Linked DNA regions of Homo sapiens: all the other regions are linked to region 4. Evidence: promoter capture Hi-C in 16 types of primary human blood cells and fetal thymus (Javierre and others, 2016). All regions are on one chromosome and are shown on one strand. The core of a region is centred on a gene start or on the middle of the fragment in contact, and the rest is flanking DNA. Distances in the headings are between cores, read along the strand shown.

What was found. Contacts are between HindIII fragments. The CHiCAGO score rates a contact against its expected background, and 5 or more counts as called.
Region 1: a fragment that was not itself captured here is called in contact with the fragment with the promoter of CDK7 in region 4 in 1 of 17 cell types (monocytes); the score reaches 5.1 in monocytes.
Region 2: a fragment that was not itself captured here is called in contact with the fragment with the promoter of CDK7 in region 4 in 7 of 17 cell types (neutrophils, naive CD8 T cells, monocytes and 4 more); the score reaches 12.5 in neutrophils.
Region 3: a fragment that was not itself captured here is called in contact with the fragment with the promoter of CDK7 in region 4 in 15 of 17 cell types (neutrophils, erythroblasts, non-activated CD4 T cells and 12 more); the score reaches 17.0 in neutrophils.

Annotation. Positions count from the first base shown.
Region 1 is chr5:69,145,160-69,148,118 of GRCh38, reverse strand. No RefSeq gene overlaps it. Among named protein-coding and RNA genes, the nearest start is that of SNORA50D, 14 kb to the left of the region's middle. The HindIII fragment of the contact is 5,026 bases long and covers 1-2,959 here.
Region 2 is chr5:69,121,236-69,124,028 of GRCh38, reverse strand. It overlaps SLC30A5 (solute carrier family 30 member 5), which reads right to left. Exons shown (of 16, transcript NM_022902.5): 13 at 2,134-2,335; 14 at 604-830. Among named protein-coding and RNA genes, the nearest start is that of SLC30A5, 29 kb to the right of the region's middle. The HindIII fragment of the contact is 7,248 bases long and covers 1-2,793 here.
Region 3 is chr5:69,343,547-69,346,505 of GRCh38, reverse strand. No RefSeq gene overlaps it. Among named protein-coding and RNA genes, the nearest start is that of CCDC125, 12 kb to the right of the region's middle. The HindIII fragment of the contact is 4,249 bases long and covers 1-2,959 here.
Region 4 is chr5:69,233,524-69,236,376 of GRCh38, reverse strand. CDK7 (cyclin dependent kinase 7) reads right to left here and starts at 1,491. Exons shown (of 12, transcript NM_001799.4): 1 at 1,336-1,491; 2 at 924-983. The coding sequence starts at 1,401. RefSeq lists an enhancer at 1,241-1,769. The HindIII fragment of the contact is 18,686 bases long and covers 1-2,062 here.

The sequences.
Region 1 (2,959 bases), core at 279-2,778, 88 kb after region 4:
GTGACAGAGCGAGACTCCATCTCAAAAAACAAAAAAAACAAAAAAAACAAAAAAGAGATCTAGAAGAAAGTCTCAAAAGGGCAAATCTAAGAGTTTTTGGCCTTAGGAGGTAGAGAGAGAGAGAGATAGGGGTAGAAAGTTTATTCAAAGGGATAATAACAGAGAACTTCCCAAACCTAGAGAGAGATATCAATATTCAAGTATAAGAAGATTGTAAGGCCGGGCGTGGTGGCTCATGCCTGTAATCCCAGCACTTTGGGAGGCCGAGGCGGGCAGATCACCTAAGGTCAGGAGTTCAAGACCAGCCTGGCCAACATGGTGAAACCCTGTCTCTATTAAAAATACAAAGATTAGCTGGGCCTGGTGGCAGGCGCCTGTAATCCCAGCTATTCGGGAGGCTGAGGCAGGAGAATCACTTGAACCTGGGAGGCAGAGGTTGCAGTGAGCTGAGATCGTGCCATTGCACTCCAGCCTGGGGGACAAGAGTGAGACTTCATCTCAAAAAAAAAGAAAGAAGATTGTAGAAAAAAGAAAAAAAAGAAAAAAAAAAACCCAAAAAACAAACAAACAAAAACGAAGGTTGTAGAACCCTAAGAATTTAACCCAAAGACTACCTCAAGGCATTTAATAAACTTTGAAAGGTCAAGGATAAAGAAAGAATCCTAAAAGCAGCAAGAGAAAAGAAACAAATATTAATAACATACAATGGAGCTCCAGTTCATCTGGCAGCAGAATTTTCAGTGGAAAATTTGTAGGTCAGGAGAGAGTGGCATGACATATTTAAGTGCAGAAGGAAAAAAACCTTTTACTCTAGAAATAGTATATCCAGCAAAAGACATCCTTCAGACATGAAATAGAAATAGCCTTTCCCAAATAAACAAAAGCTGAGGGATTTCATCAACACCACACCTATCCTACAAGAAATGCTAAAGGGAGTTCTTCAGTCTAAAAGAAAAAGATGTTAATGAGCAATAAGAAATCATTTGAAGGAACTGGGTGCAGTGGCTCATGCCTGTAATCCCAGCACTGTGAGAGGCTGAAGAGAGAGGATCACTTGAGCTCAAGAGTTTGAGACCAGCCTGGGCAACATAGTGAGACCTCATCTGTACAAAAAAGTTAAAAGAGTTAGCTGGGCGTGGTGGCGCATACCTGTAGTCCCAGCTACTTGGGAGGCTGAGGTGGGAAGAATGCTTGAACCTGAGAGTTCAAGGCTGCAGTGAGCTATGATTGTGCCACTGCTCTACAGCCTGGCTGACAAAGCAAGACCCTGTCTCAGCAACAGCAACAACAACAAAAGAAATCATCTGAAGTTACAAAACTCACTGGTAATAGTAAGTACACGGAAAAATACAGAATAATATAACACTGCAATTGTGGTATGTAAACTTCTCATTTCTCAAGTAGAAAGATGAAAAGATAGACTGATCAAAAATAATAACTGCAACAAATTTTCAAGACATAGTACAGTAAGATATGACTAGAAATAGCAAAAAGTTAAAAAGTGAGGAGACAAAGCTAAAGTATAGAGTTTTCTTTCTTTCTTTTTTTTTTTTTGAGACACAGTCTTGCTCTGTCGCCCATGCTGGAGTGCAGTGGCGCCATCTCGGCTCACTGCAAGCTCCGCCTCCTGGGTTCATGCCATTCTCCTGCCTCAGCCTCCTGAATAGCTGGGACTACAGGCGTGTGCCACCACGCCTGGCTAATTTTTTGTATTTTTAGTAAAGACAGGGTTTCACCGTGTTAGTCAGGATGGTCTCGATCTCCTGACCTCGTGATCTGCCCGCCTTGGCTTCCCAAAGCGCTGGGATTACAGGCGTGAGCCACCGCGCCCGGCCCTAGTTTTCTTTTTGCTTGTTAGTTTGTTTATGTTCTGTGTTATAATCAGTTTAAAATAATGGGTTTTTAAGGTATTATTAGCATGCCTGATGCTAACCTCAAATCTAAAAGCATACAACACAAACATGAAAAGTAAAAAGCAAGAAATTCAACATATGACTAGAGAAAATCACCTTCACTAAGAGGAAGACAGGAAGGAAGAAGGAAAAGAAGACCACAAAAGATTCAGAAAATAACAAAATGGAGGAATAAGTTCTTACTTACAAATAACATTGAATGCAAATGGACTAGACTCTCTAGTCAAGACCCAGAGTGGCTGAATGGATTAAAAAAACAAGACCCAAAGATCTATTGCCTCCAAGAAACACAATTCACCTATAAAGACACCCACAGACCGAAAATAAATGGAGGGAAAAAGATATTCCATGCTAATGGAAACCAAGAAAGGGTAGGAGTAGCTATACTAATATTAGACATAACAGATTTCAAGGCAAAAACTATGAAAAGACAAAGGGCCAGGCACGGTGGCTCATGCCTGTAATCCCAACACTTTTGGAGGCCAAGGTGGGTGGATCACCTGAGATCAGGAGTTTGAGACCAGCCTGGCCAACATGGCGAAACCCCGTCTCTACTAAAAAAAATGCAAAAATTAGCCAGGCGTGGTGGTGGGCGCCTGTAATCCCAGTTACTCAGGAGGCTGAGGCAGGAGAATCACTTGAACCTGGGAGGCAGATGTTTCAGTGAGCTGAGATCGCACCACTGCACTCCAGCATGGGCGACATAGTGAGACTCTGTCTCAAAAAAAATAAAATAAAGTAAAATAAAAATAATAAAAAGAGACAAAGAAGGACATTATATAATGATAAAGGGGTCAATTCAGCAAATGATATAATAATTGTAAATATATATGTACCCAACACTGGAGCACCCATATATATATATAAAGCAAATTTTATTAGAACTGAAAAGAGAGATAGACCCCAATACAATAGTAGCTGGAGATGTCAGCACCCCACTTTCAGCATTTGACAGATCATCCAGACAAAAATACAACAAAGAAACTTTGGACTGAATCTGCACCATAGACAGTGGACGTAATAATATTTACCTAACATTTCATCTA
Region 2 (2,793 bases), core at 17-2,516, 110 kb after region 4:
CCATTCTCCTGCCTCAGCCTCCCGAGTAGCTGGGACTACAGGTGCCCGCCACCACGCCCGGCTAATTTTTTGTATTTTTAGTAGAGACGGGGTTTCACCTTGTTAGCCAGGATGGTCTCGATCTAAACTGTTAGTTTTGTCACTTAATTCTGCTACTTTATAATTGCAAAGTAGGATCCTATTAATTAATTCTGTAAGTTTATGTATGTTTTCTTATTCTCAAGCGCTAACTCTTCCAAGTAAGTTCCAAATAATTTTAGAACATCCCAAACCATAAACAAAAATATCCAATGAAGGCAACTAAATTGAAATCTAAATAAAATAAAATCAACATCATTATAATAAAGAGTCTTCTCATCCAAGAAAATCTCATCCATCTATTCGGTCCCTGTTTTATATCCTTTAAGTAAAACTGTATTTTTCTCATTTATATCTTGCATATTTCTTGTTAGGTCAACTTATTAAATTTTAAATGCTACTTTATATTTCTTTTTTGGCCTCGTTTTGTTTTATTATTTATTTGGTTGTCTGTTTTACTTCCAGCAAAGACTTCAAAAATGTGATTTTCAAGGAAGAAAGTAGTGAAGAAATTACATACAGTACCTTTTCTAAAGCAATATGTAGTTCTTTTTCATATTCTGGTGGCAATCTCAGGAGTAGAACCTGGCAGGCATCTTTAATCAGTGGAACAACACTGAGAAATATTAATATAGCAATAAAAAGAGAACAGAGTGGGTCAGCGATGAACCATCCAAACTGCTCTATAAGAACTGTGGATACGATCACACCAATGCTGCCAAGTGTATCTGCCAAAACATGTAGAAATACACCTACAAATAAAATATATAAGGACATTAAAAATTAAGGCACATCTAATTTAGTTTTTTAATACATTCTACTAATATTACTGGATACCTACTGTGCACCACATACTCTGCTACTGGCTAGTACTTCAAAATGCCTAAAACATGGTCACTGCCCTCAAGGAATTCAGAATACAGTGGTAAAAATATAAGGACATAGGCACTCATGACACAGCGTGCCAAATTTTATGGTGTACTTTGTCTGGAAAGGCTTCCCAAAAATCATACTTGAGGCAAGTTTTGACATTACCCACATTACTTATATTAAGCAATCAGAATAAACAATTCAGCAAAATAAATGATTAGTACTTCCTCCATTTTTTTTATAGTGCAATAAAAATTTCTAAAAAAGGAGTAAGAATTTCCTTTTTGTAATGAAGGTTCATAATAGCACACTGTGTTTACCTTGCAACTAATATCTATTCAGCTGTCACTATGAAAAGGACTATATAATTATAATCATTTAAAAACTAACATTTAAGAACAAATATATTTTCATTTTCTTTTTGTTTTGGATAGAGTCTCACTCTGTTGCCCAGGCTGGAGTAAAGTGGCGTAATCTTGGCTCACTGCAACCTCCATCTCCCAGGTTCAAGTGATTCTCGTGTCTCAGCCTCCTGAGTAGCTGAGACTACAGGCGCCTGCCACCACACCTGGCTAAGTTATGTATTTTTAGTAGAGACAGGGTTTCACCATGTTGGAGAGACTGGTCTCGAACTCCTGACCTCAGGTGATCCACCCACCTTGGCCTCCCAAAGTGCTAGGATTACAGATGTGAGCCACTGTTCCCAGCCTCATTTTCTTTTTAAAAAATTTTCTGTGACGGCCAGGCATGGTGGCTCACACCTGTAAGCGATTCTTCTGCCTCGGCCTCCTGAGTAGCTGGGATTACAAGCACCTGCCACCATGTCCGGCTAATTTTTGTATTTTTAGTAGGCACAGGGTTTCACCATATTGGCCAGGCTGGTCTTGAACTCCTGTCCTCAGGTGGTACTCCCGCCTCAGCCTCCCAAATTGCTGGGATTAACAGGCGTGAACCACCATGCTCCCAGCCAGAATGTCCCTCTTTTTAAAGGCTGAATAATATTTAATTTTATGTGTATTCAGGTAAGAATATTTTCTATAGTGATAGCTTCAGACCTTTCTTTTAGTCACAGATTGCTTTTTAAAAATCATATCATACCAGAAGCCCAAAACTTAATACAAATAAACACAGAGGGTTGATTTAGAACACAGTTGAAAAGTAGGATAATATTTTGCAAGGACTCACCCCTCATGTTAGCATTCATGCCTCCACCCGCAGATCCGTGGCTGTGACCATGCCCATGGTCACTGTGTCCATGCATATGGTGTGAATGGCTGTGATCAGATGAGTGACAGCTTCCTTGAGAAGCTCCATGGGCATGGCTATGGGCATGGCTAAAGGCACAGATACCAATAAGGTTTACTATCAGCCCTCCAACTGAGACTGGCTAGCAAAAGGGAGAAAAAAAACCTTTAAATTAGTAATTTAAAAATAGACTTGTTATTTAAAAGTTATTATATAGCTATATATGTTTTTCTGTTTACAGTTTTGAAAGTATTCACAGTAAAACCTTACTAAGTTTCAGTAAGTCCAAAATTTTAAAAATGTGAATTTTAGAACATTTTAGAAGAAACATTTTAACTTTCAAATATCAAGCAGAATTGGTAAGTAGAGGAATTTGGACTTATTTCAATTAAGAATGGTATGTACTTGGTTTATGGTTTATGTATAAATAAATGATGCAAAGTTTTGTTTTGTTTATTGAAGAGTTTGAAAGTACTGCTTACTAGGGCAAGTATACACTGTACCTGAAATCTTTATATTGCTAGGTAAATTTGAACAGTTTATATGCCAACAATTATAATTTATTAATGAGCAGATTCCAAATATGGTCTTATTATGTCT
Region 3 (2,959 bases), core at 1-2,500, 110 kb before region 4:
GTGAGCTGAGGTTGCAGTGAGCTGAGATTGCACAACTGCACTCCAGCCTGGGCAACACAGACAGACCCTGTCTAAAAAAAAAAAAAAAAAAAAAAAAGCAAAGAAATCTGCACATATGGGCACATTTTTAAAAATGTTTTCTTTTTAAAGTTTTTCCCCCGCGCCCCCCACCTGAAGCTGACAGTAGTTGATGGGCCATTTTTTTATTTTGAGACAGGGTCTTGCTCTGTCACCCATGTTGGAATGCCATGGCATGCTCTTTGCTCACTGCAGCCTCAATCTCCCCAGGCTCAGGTGATCCTCCCACCTCAGCCTCCAAGTAGCTGGAACTACAGATGCTCGCCAGTACACCTGGCTAATTTTTTAACTTTGTGTAGAAACAAGGTTTCACCACGTTGCCCAGCCTGGTCGGGAACTCCTGGGCTCAATGAATCCTCCTGCCTCAGTCTCCCAAAGTGTTAGCGTTACTGGCGACAGCCACCGAGCTCTGTGGCAATTTTTGATGGAAGTCCAAAGGCAAGTCAATGGGGGAAAGAATAATCTTTCAACAAGTGAAAAAATTTAGTGTCTTGGATTAGAAAAAAGATTTTTCTGATAAGACACAAAAAGCACAAACCATAAAGGGACTGATACATGGGACTTCAGCAAAATTCATAACTCTTTCTCTCTTCAAAAGACAATGTTAAGAAAATGAAAGCACAAAGAGCCAGGGCAGCAGTGCTCACCCTAGTCCAAACTACTCCCAGCTACTAGGGAGGCTGAGGTAGGAGGATCACTTGAGCCCTGGAGTTGAAGGTTGTAGTGAGGTATGACTGTGCCTGCAAATAGCTACTGCATGCCAGCCTGGGCAACATAGAAAGACTCCATCTCTACAAATTTTAAAAAAGAGAAAGAAGATGAAAGCACAAATCACAGATTGGAGAAAATGCAAAATGAATATCTGATATCAGGTGTGTATCTAGAATATGTACAGAATTATCAAAATAATAAAACAACTTGATTTAAAAAAATCAACAAAATCGGCAAACCTTAATCTAGATTAACAAAAAAGAGAAGGGAGGGGATATCACTACTGACTACGGAAATCAAATGGATTATAAAGGAAAACTATAAACAACTGTATGCCAACAAATTAGATAATTTATATTAAATGGACAAATTCCTAGAAATTCACAAACTTCTGAAACTGATTCAAGAAGAAATATAAATTATGAATAGGCCTATAACAAGAAAATATAATAAATTAGTAATTTTAAAACTTCCTACACAGAAAGGTCCAGGCACAGATGGCTTCACTGGTGATTTTTTTAAATTAATTAATTAATTTATTTATTATTATTATTTTTTAGATGGAGCTTCACTCTTGTTGCCCAGGCTGGAGTGCAATGGTGACATCTTGGCTCAGTGCAACCTCCGCGTCCCGGATTCAAGCAATTCTCCTTCTTCAGCCTCCCGAGTAGCTGGGATTACAGGCGCCCACCACCACACACAGCTAATTTTTTGTATTTTTAGTAGAGACGGGGTTTTACCTTATTGGCCAGACTTATCTTGAACTCCCAGCCTCAGGTGATCCACCCACCTTGGCCTCCCAAAGTGCTGGGATTACAGGTGTAAGCCACCACACCTGGCGATTTTTTTTATTGTTTATAAAGAAAAGAGGTTTAATTGGCTCATGGTTCCACAGGCTATATAGGAAGCATGGCTGGGGAGGCCTGAGGGAACTTATAATCATGGTAGAAGGCCAAGGAGAAGCAGGCACGTCTTACATGGCTAGAGCAGGAAGAAGAGAGAGCCACTGGTGAATTTTATTAAATGTTTAAAAAAGAGCCAATACCAATTATTTTAAAATTTCTCCCAACAAATAGAAGATAAGGGAATAATTCCCAACATATATTAAAAAGTTTACATTCAGGATGAATTGCTGTTGGCCCAGCACAGTGCCTCATGCCTGTAATCCCAGCACTTCGGGAGGCCAAGACAGGCAGATCACCTGAGGTCAGGAGTTTGAGACCAGCCTGGCCAACATGGTGAAACCCCATCTCTACTAAAAATACAAAAATCAGCCAGGGATGGTGGCAGGCGCCTGTAATCTCAGCTACTCCGGAGGCTGAGGCAGGAGAATTGCTTGAACCCGAGAGGTGGAGGTTGCAGTAAACTGAGATTGTGCCACTGCATTCTAGCCTGGGCAACAGAGCAAGACTCCATCTCAAAAAAAAAAAAAAAAAAAGATGAATTCTGTTAAGTTGAAAAATAAACAAATAAATAAGGCTGGGCATGGTGGCTCATGCCTGTAATCCCAGCACTTTGGGAGGCTGAGACAGGCAGGTCACCTGAGGTCAGGAGTTCGAGACCAGCCTGGCCAACGTGGCAAAATCCCATCTCTACTAAAAATACAAAAATTATCTGGGTGTGGTGGTGGGAGCCTGTAATCCCAGCTACTTGGGAGGCTGATCCAGGAGAATCGCTTGAATCCACGAGGTGGAGGTTGCAGTGAGCTGAGATTGCCCCACTGCACTCCAACCGGGTGACAGAATGAGACTGTGTCTCAAAAAAAAAGACCCGGCCGGGTGCAGTGGCTCATGACTTTAATCCCAGCACTTTGGGAGGCTGAGGTGGGTGGATCACGAGGTTAGGAGTTCGAGACCAGCCTGACCAACATGGTGAAACCCCGTCTCTACTAAAAATATAAAAATTAGCTGGGCCTGGTGGTGCATGCCTGTAATCCCAGCTACTCAGGAGGCTGAGGCAGGAGTATTGCTTGAACCTGAGAGGTGGAGGTTGCAGTGAGCCGAGATTGCGCCACTACACTCCAGCCTGGGCAATACAGTGAGACTCCGTCTCAAAAGAAAAGAAAAAAAGAAAAAGAAAAGAAATTAGCTGAGCATGGTGGTGCATGCCTGTAATCCCACCTACTCAGGAGGCTGAAGCAGGAGAATTGCTTGAATCCAGGAGGCAGAGA
Region 4 (2,853 bases), core at 242-2,741:
CACTCAGTCTCAGGTACCTCAAGTATAAAATAGGGTTACTTTTAACCACTTTATAGATTGTTTTGAAGGTTAAAAGAAACAATGTAGGTGAACGTGAGTTATGTAATTATGACCCAAATCTTTTTTTTTTTTTTTTTAAGATGGAGTCTCCCTCTGTCACCAGGCTGGAGCACAGTGGCACCATCTCGGCTCATTACAACCTCCACCTCCCAGGTTCAAGTGATTCTCCTGCCTCAGCCTCCCGAGTAGCTGGGATTACAGACAGGTGCCACCACACCCAGCTAATATTTGTATTTTTAGTAGAGACAGGGTTTCACCATGTTGGCCAGGATGGTCTGGATCTCTTGACCCCAAGTGATCCGCCCACCTCGGCCTCCCAAAGTGCTGGGATTACAGGCGTGAGCCACCGCGGCTGGCCCGACCCAAGTCTTTTGAATGAATATAAGAAGCTACTGAATCCGACCCAGGTCTTTTGAATGAATATAAGAAGCTACTGAACTCATTTTAGACCTCACATCAATGTTGTTCATGCTAGTGAAAGTCTTTCATGGTAAATCCGTACACAGAAAATACAGATACGACACACTGAGTGGATGCAGGTGAGGTATAAACAGTGACCTAGAAAGATCATGGTATCCAATAGTTCTGAGGACCGAAAAGATGGGCAGTACTTGCCCACAACATATGAATTTATGCAGTAAAAATAACATACAGCTTCTTCTTCATTTCAATAGAAATTAAAACGGGTTCAACCCTAGAGTTCCGTTTGGGAACACAAAGCACTAATTAATTATTTTGTCTCTGAAAATGACATGAGTAACTCATTATCAGAGTATGGTCAAGACTAATAAAATGGCTATCAGTCAATTAATAATACAGACATCTTCAAGGAGACTTAAAAACAACATAAAAAGGTAACTCACTTTCTTAATGGCGACAATTTGGTTGGTGTTCTTATCTCTGGCCTTGTAAACGGTGGCAAACTAGAAAGAAAAATAGAAATAACATAAGTTTATGGGAGTTTTTGTGTTTGCCTTTTTGCATTTTTACATTTCGCGAAGCAAAGAGCCCAGAGTTCCTGAGCAGACTCGCGGCGGCTGGAAACGTGGCGGGTCAGTCTCCGTCCAGCTCCAGGCTACTCTTCAGCAAGGAGAGGCCCCTCAGGGATTCACCCCCAGGATGTAAAGAATGGGCAGCAAGTGCGTCTGGACGGTTTCCCCCAACGAGAACGAGCAGCCAAGCCAGACCTCTGGCCTCCACGGGAAAACCCGCAAAGGTGGAGGCGGCGCGGGGCTGTCCGCTTGGGGCCCTCCCCGTCCTTCCAGAGAGCCTCACCTGTCCCTCCCCAAGGAAGTCCAGCTTCTCATAACGCTTTGCCCGAGACTTCACGTCCAGAGCCATCCGGCGCCGTAAAGCCCGACTCCAGCCGAAAAGGGCGAGCTCCCAGGACAACACGAATTTAAAGCTACCTTAAAGCCTCCAACACCCACTTCCGTCCACCGGGCTCCGTCGCTTTAGTATCCCCGCCTCACTTCCGTGGTGGGCGGAGGAAGCTGCGCTAGGCCCAGGCGGTTGGCGTTCCCCACCCGTCACGTGACGCCTGTCGGTGCCTGAAGTGGGGCATCTTCAATGGCTGCTGTGTCACTCTGTTGCCGTTTTAACTTGGGTGTTTTCTACATTACCAGGAACTGGTCAGCGTTCTAATTTGGTGTTCCATGTTCGGGGTTTGGTAGGTGTCTGTGAATGTAGAAAGTTTGGCCTTGTACCTGTTCTCGCTTTTTGGTTCTTGCTCGAGCGCGTCCTGTCGCCGTGGTTGCTATGGACGCCAAACCCTGCTATCTCAGATTACTGAGACGAGTGCCAAGTTCTTACGGGCTGGTCAAGAGTATTCTTAGTCCAGTCCCTTTATGAAGAAGCAGGCCCAGGAAAACAAAATCCAACTCAACTGAAACGTGCTGTGGGAATCAGCTTCTAGTCCTCAGTTTTCTACTCGGTAAAATGGAAAAAATAATGAACTACATCACAGGAGATTGTGGGTATTAAATGAAACATGCAGAAAGCTTAGACATTAACTCAATTAATTGAGACAGTGCTCAATTAACTTAGCAGTAATGAGTACCCAACCCCTTGATTATCATAAATTGTCATAACAAACACACTAATTCATTTATTCAAAAACATATTGAGTGCTTTTCCTTTTTCATTTTTCTCTCTCTTAGGATGCTGATATTGAGTGTTATCTATGTGCCAAGCACCATTGTAGAATCTGAGATAGCAGGGAGCAAAGATCCCTGCCTTCCAATGGGAGGAGATAAAAAAACAAGTCAAATATGTGTTATGATACATAGGTGATAAGTGCTATAGAGATAATAAAGCAGATAAAGGATAACAAATCAGGGCAGGGGCAGGGATGGAGGTTTTAAATAGGGTGGTACAAGAAAGTCATCACTGAAAACCCACTGGAGGGATTGGAGCAGACAAGTGATATGACCTGACTCACTTTTAAAAGGTTCACTCTTGCTGTTGGGAGACTATATTATAGATTTTGAGGGACAAGAAAAAGAAAGAAGGCCTATTAGAGAACTATTGCAGTAATCCAGATGGCTCTACTAGTGGATAATTAAAAGTTTCTGAGCCAGAGCAGCTGTCAACATGGAAATGTGCCCCCCTCCCCCTGCCTTTGTTTGTTTGTTTGTTTTTGAGACAGTCTCACTCTGTTGCTCAGGCTGGAGTACGCTGGCCCGATCTGAGCTCACTGCAACCTCTGCCTCCTGGGTTCAAGCGATTCTCCTGCCTCAGCTTCCCGATTAGCTGGGATTACTGGCCTGCTCCACCACACCCAGCTAATTTTTG